Regions from separate parts of the Homo sapiens genome. Here region 1 is linked to region 2. Evidence: promoter capture Hi-C in 16 types of primary human blood cells and fetal thymus (Javierre and others, 2016). All regions are on one chromosome and are shown on one strand. Each heading gives the region's core, a stretch centred on a gene start or on the middle of the fragment in contact. The rest is flanking DNA. Distances are from core to core; before and after follow the strand shown.

What was found. The method cuts DNA at HindIII sites, captures the fragments that hold promoters and counts their contacts. A CHiCAGO score of 5 or more calls a contact.
Region 1: a contact is called between the fragment with the promoter of EVI2B here and a fragment that was not itself captured in region 2, in 1 of 17 cell types (naive CD4 T cells). The highest score is 5.9, in naive CD4 T cells.

The regions. Positions count from the first base shown.
Region 1 is chr17:31,312,086-31,315,339 of GRCh38, forward strand. EVI2B (ecotropic viral integration site 2B) reads right to left here and starts at 1,969. Exons shown (of 2, transcript NM_006495.4): 1 at 1,894-1,969. The region is part of intron 36 of NF1 (neurofibromin 1); the gene reads left to right. The HindIII fragment of the contact is 2,631 bases long and covers 967-3,254 here.
Region 2 is chr17:31,367,446-31,370,624 of GRCh38, forward strand. The region is part of intron 57 of NF1 (neurofibromin 1); the gene reads left to right. Among named protein-coding and RNA genes, the nearest start is that of RAB11FIP4, 23 kb to the right of the region's middle. The HindIII fragment of the contact is 3,017 bases long and covers 1-2,794 here.

The DNA.
Region 1 (3,254 bases), core at 719-3,218, 55 kb before region 2:
GCATCAGATTTATGTTTCTCAATTCAAACTTAATCAGAATTAAAGTTTCCTTCTAAGTAGAATTATGTGGGAATTAGCTGGAAAACACAGGCACTACTAGTAAACTTTAGATTTGGGACTAACCCTTTAAAAACATGTATGGGACCAGGCGCAGTGGTTCCTGCCTGTAATCCCAGCACTTTGGGAGGCCGAGGTGGGCCAATCACTTGAGGTCAGGAGTTGAAGACCAGCCTGACCAACATGGTGAAACCCCGTTTCTACTAAAAATACAAAAAATTAGCCAGGCGTGGTGGTGGGTGCCTGTAATCCCAGCTACTCAGGAGGCTGAGGCAGAAGAATCTCTTGACCCTGGGAGGCGGAGGTTGCAGTGAGCCTGTGAGCCAAGATGGTGCCGCTGCACACCAGCCTGGGTGACAGAGGGAGACTCCATCTCAAAAAAAAAAAAAAAAAGTATGGGATTCTATGACAAAAACACACCATAAGGATCGATGGGAAATTTTTTAATTTTATGAAATATGACAGTGAAAAAAATTTAATATAATTTTATGACTTTATGCATAATGAAATAAACTAAATATTAGAAGTAGAAAAATATATAGACAAGCCTAATCTGAAAAAGAGATAAATATCTTTATTTTCTGACTTCCACAGTAATTACTTAGAAGAAATCCTTCTAAGAGAAAGTCATGAATATTTATTAAGTGTTGAAATGGGATATCACCCACTATGAACATATTATTCCCTGAAATTACAAGTCTATGTAAAATACTCTTTGCAGTTTTTATTTGCCCATTTTACCCACAGCAAGCATCTTTTATGCATATTAACAATTTTCTATTGTTTATTCTATAGGTTTCTTCTATCTTATACTATGTTCTAAAGTCTCAGATAATGTGACATAAACACGTAGATGATATTAATATACGCATGCATGTTTGATTATTGACTAACATTTTTGGCTTAGTAAGCTTTTAAAATGAGCCATAATGTTTTCATGTCATCATTATTAAATATAAAATCTATATGTAAAAAATAAAGCATGTATAATAATAATAGTCAAATACCACATCTGATTTCTTTTTCTTTCTAAATTAAGTGAAAGTGACCATTCTTACTATGCAAACTAAAGGGGATACAAAAATTTTAATTTATGCATTATATTATGTACAGGAAAATTCTATAAAAAGTACATTAGAACTTTTAACAATTAATATTTTGGAGGTTATAAATTCAGTCATAGCCTGTGGAATCTAGTTCTATTTCTAACCCTTAGCTTTATCTGCCATGGCTATAGTTTCTTTTTAATTCTAAAACTAAGGTTAACAAATATGATTGTGGCTGGGAGCGGTGGCTCACTCCTGTAATCCCAGCACTTTGGGAGGCGGAGGTAAGCGGATCACCCAAGGTCAGGAGTAGGAGACCAGCCTGGGCAACATAGTGAAACCCCATCTCTACTAAAAATACAAAAAAATTAGCCAGGCGTGGTGGTGGGCGCCTGTAATCCGAGCTACTTGAGAGGCTGAAGCAGGAGAATTGCTTGAACCCAGGAGGTGGAGGTTGCAGTGAGCTGAGATCGTGCCACTGCACTCCAGCCTGGGAGACAGAGCAAGACTCTATCTCAAAAAAAAAAAAAAATATGTGTGTGTGTGTGTGTGTGTGTGTGTGTGTGTGTGAGATTAAATAAACTTAAAAGGTCTTATACAAACCTAGGTGAAAATATTTTTCTAAGGCAAGCTGAACTGAGTATTTTTTAATTCTATGCAACAAAACCACAAAAACCTGTTATAGACATCTTTAGACTATCAGAGTTTAAGTTTAAAACACTAATGACAGTTTTTAAAATAAATTTTATATAAAGCAAGATCAAACCAAATTGTGTGAAAATTTTCTTACCTCAGCTGTTAACTTCTTTTGCAGAATGCTAAATTCTTGTTCTAACTGGACATTTTGGTGATTTGGCTAAGAAAGGAAAATGGGTGGTTCAATTCAGATTTAAAATGTTCCTCTAGCAAACTGAAATAGTTTCTGTAGAAAAAGAGGAAGTTTATCAATAGCTGGTTCCGGAAGTGCAATAAACCACAAAGTGACTAAGAAATATATTACTTTAACAGAACTTATTTTGAAATACATTTTGGAGCCCTATGATTTGAGTGCTTTTAATTATGTAAATAAATATTTGAGATACTCTAGTAATATGATTATGTAAATTAAATATTTAGGATGGAGTCCCGAAGAGAAAATTACATGTTCTAAGAAGAAAAGCTGCCAGTTGGGTTATCACTTACAGTGAGATTTCTTCTCATAAGAAGTGAGTGATGTGTTCTGTTTACTTGTATGACCTTAGGCAAGACTCTGCACTTCTGAGTCACCGTTTCCTCCTCTAAAGGAATATTTTATTGGGTTATTGTGAGGATTAAATAAGATAGCATAATATAACATGTATAAATGCCTCACCAACTGCAGGTAACCAATAAATGTAATGTTATTTCCTCATAATATAAAAAGTCCAGGGTAAAAGTATAATTACATTATTTTGCAAATGACAGGATCTCATTCTTTTTTATGGCTGAATAATACTCCATTGTGTATATGTACCATATTTTCTTTATCCATTCATCTGTTTATAGACACTTAGGTTGCTTCCAAATCTTGGCTGTTGTGAATAGTGTTACAACAAAAGTGGGAGTGCAGATGTCTCTTTGTACAGTTTTCCTTTCTGTTGGGTATATACCTAGCAGTGGGATTGCTGGATCATATGATAGCTCTATTTTTAGTTTTTTGAGGAACCACCAAACTGTTCTCCATAGTGGTTTTACTGATTTACATTCCCACTAACAGCGTACGAGAGTTCCATTTTCTCCACACCCTTCCCAGCACTTGTTATTGCCTGTCTTTTGAGTATAAGCCATTTTAACTGGGGTGAGATGAGGTATCATTGTAGTTTTGATTTGCATTTCTCTCATCAGTGGTGCTGAGTACCCTTTCGTATGCCTGTTTGCCATTTGTATATTTGTAATTAAATTATTTTGACCAAATATTTTACTAGTGACTTTTGAGTTCAAGTTCTCAACTATTTATTTGATTACCCACAAAGTAGTTACTTCTCAGTGGAAAATAAAATAAATTGGGGATCATTTTTTAAATAAGAAGTTAACTAAAGTTAACTTGTTACTAAAGGGTAATGAGGGGTTGGGGAGATGGTGTTACCAGTTAATAGGTACAAAAAACAATAGAAAGAATGAATAAGACCTATT
Region 2 (3,179 bases), core at 36-2,535:
ATTGCACGGCCAGTGTGTGGCCTGTCTTGTTTAAGGAGCTGCTAATACCCACCCAGAACAATGAAGATGCAATCCCATACCTGGACTAACAAAGGCAGGTTAATAAGAAACTCAAGAGAGAGTTAATAGAGAAAGAGCAGAATACGTGGTTTGATGAAGTTTTTTTAGCTTAGAAAATAACTTGTTTTCCCCAAATAGAAAGCCAACCCCAGTGTTTCCTCAGAAATTAAAGCTGGCTGTCTATTCAATCACCTGTGGTTAAAAAAAGGAATATGGCCAGGTGCGATGGCTCACGCCTATAATCACAGCACTTTGGGAGGCCAAGGTGGGCGGATCACTTGAGTCCAGGAGTTGAAAACCAGCCTGGGTAACGTGGCAAAACCCTCTTTCTACAAAAAATACAAAAAGCTATTCACAGGACTGAGGTGGGGAGGTTGAGGCTTTGGTGAGCTGAGATCGCACCACCGCACTCCAGCCTGAGTGACAGAGCAATACTCTGTCTCACAAAAAAATTAAAAAAAAAAAATATATGGTCATTAGTTAGCTATAAGGACTAAGATGAAAAAATTTGACACATTTATGTCTAATTTATAAAAGATGCCTTTTCTTTTATTCACCTGTAATTAATATACAAAAAGATTACACCTAAACAGAAAAAGAAGTGCTAGCAGTTGGTGAACGTCATTTTTAAAAATTCTTTTTTCTTTTTGAGACGGAGTCTCTCTCTGTTGCCCAGGCTGGAGTACAGTGGTGTGATCTCAGCTTACTGCAACCTCCGCCTCCCCAGTTCAAGCGATTCTCCTGCCTCAGCCTCCTGAGTAGCTGGAATTACAGGCATGTTCCACCAAGCCTGGCTAATTTTTTTTGTATTTTCAGTAGAGACGAGGTTTCACCATTTTGGCCAGGCTGGTCTCGAACTCCTGACCTCAAAGATCTGCCTGCCTTGGCCTCCCAAAATGTTAGGATTACAGGCATGAGCCACAATACCAAGCCAAAAATTCTTATAGTTACAATTTTTTATATTTAGCTCAAAATAAAAATATTTCTAAGTATATATTTAATACGCCTCCATGAATGTATTTACTGTAGCTTAAAAATAGGCTGTAGCTACCTAAGAAGATTTATTCTATTTTGTGCTTATTTATATTAGCTTCACTCATTTTACAAATTCTAGCATAAAATTAAAGTCCTAGTATTTGTTCTAAAACTCCTTTGTATCACCTGGTCTTTTACTTCAGATATTAGGAGCATCTTAATTTGTGGAGTAATTATTTTATCTGTGTGCAAAAATTCTTCACATAGATTATTTTGTCTAACAACCCTTTGAAATAGACAAGTCTGCTGTTATCCTTAATTGCCAGATTAAGAATTACAACTAAATAAGAATATTGATCCAAACAAGTCTCAAACCTAGGTCTTCTGACATGTTTAAGTTCTCCTGTATGTAATAAGAGTTTTCTAATAAGTTTGCCATATTGTATATGAAATAAACTAAATGCAGAGTAAGGTAACCTACTAGTGCTCCTGCACAGGTGGCAGGAGATTTCAGTTTTTATTAGTCTGTCATTTTTGTAGTATAACTTCTCACAAATTACCTAACCCATTTTTCCTTAGCTTTTCAAGAGTTAAAAGCGATTCTGTTGTTTTATTATTTCATGATACTATTATAACTGATTATTTCAGTTTGGGAAACCAAAAGTGTTTTTTAAAAATGAGTGACTAAAAAATTGTCAGGCTGGAGCTACATCACTAGTTGTAAAAATACACAAACCTTGATACCTGCCTTCAAGGAACTCATGTTCTAGCAGGGAAGATAGACATCTAACTTAAATAACAATAATGTAATCTAATCCTTTTCCCCAGCTACTCAAATTCACTGAATTTTGGCCAATAACACCTTCTAGTTAGGATTTTGTCTTTATCTGGAACCACCACAATTTATTGAAACATAGTACTGCTGATATACTGCTGTACAGAATGTCCAGCTGTTTCTGCTCTGCATGTTTGTAATTGGCTGCATGTTTGACCACAGCATATCTGTGGGGTCATTTAAGCTGGCAAATCAGGACCACAGAAGTTTTAGCTTTATTTCCTTTGTGTGGTAGCCTCTGGGTTTCTGTCAGTCACTTTGTAGTTTTGTCTGTTTGTTGTCCACCAAAGGCCAGAAAGGAGAGCCAATGCTTTAGGGGCAAAAGAGATACCAGAATACAAAACTTTAAAGGGGTTTTGATGAAAAGAAGTGCAGCACCAAGGCCTTCTCACTAACTTAAAATATGGCATATAGCAATACAGGATGTGTTCTGTCTGCATTGGAGTGGTCTATCAGATAATCTGAGAGTTTTTCCTATGGGATATTGAGGTGAAATCCTTCACCAGTTCCTAGAGAGATTTCTAGATTTAATTTTAGAGGATAAAAAGAAAGAATGCTGCCAAAATTCTTAGAAGTGAGAATTATGCTGAGAAACTTAAATGCCAGAACTAGATACTATGATCATTCTGTTTCATACTACCTTGGCTTTTTCAAGATATATTTTGGTGTAAACGTAATGCATTTTAATTGTTTTTTTTTAATGACTTTCCAAGATTTTTGTTAGTTTCTCCTTTGATCCTTACAGTAAAACATCTTTGCTGTGAAGTTGAACTTAGGAATCACAGTCACACCACATTTACCTATGTGTGATTTATACAGTTGGGTCACTAAGTAGGAAGAAAACATACATTCCAAAAACAAGAATTTAGATGAAAAATGAATTTGAGAAAAGAAGTAGAATATCAACTTTTGACATAGTGTTGAAGCTTTTGGTTATGAGGGATGGGGCTGACAAGTCACTCGTACTTTTACATTTTTAATTAATGTGCTCATTAGGAAAAAAATTGGAAAATTCAGAAAAATAAAAGGAAAAAGTTACCCACAATCCTATCATTCTAAGATAGATAACCACTGTTTATTAACATTTTGGTGCATTTCCTTCCAGTTTCTTTTTTTTATATACTTGAGGTCATAGTATGTGAACAACTTTATAGCTTGTTTTGTACCCTCAACATTTAACAGGAGATAAATAAGGCCTTTAAAATTATTTGAGGTTTGACGGTTATTTGCTTCACAAAACAGAAAGTGGAATGTTCTTAGCACTTTTTTGAAGATACCTTCACCCTAGTGACTTCATCTACATTACTAC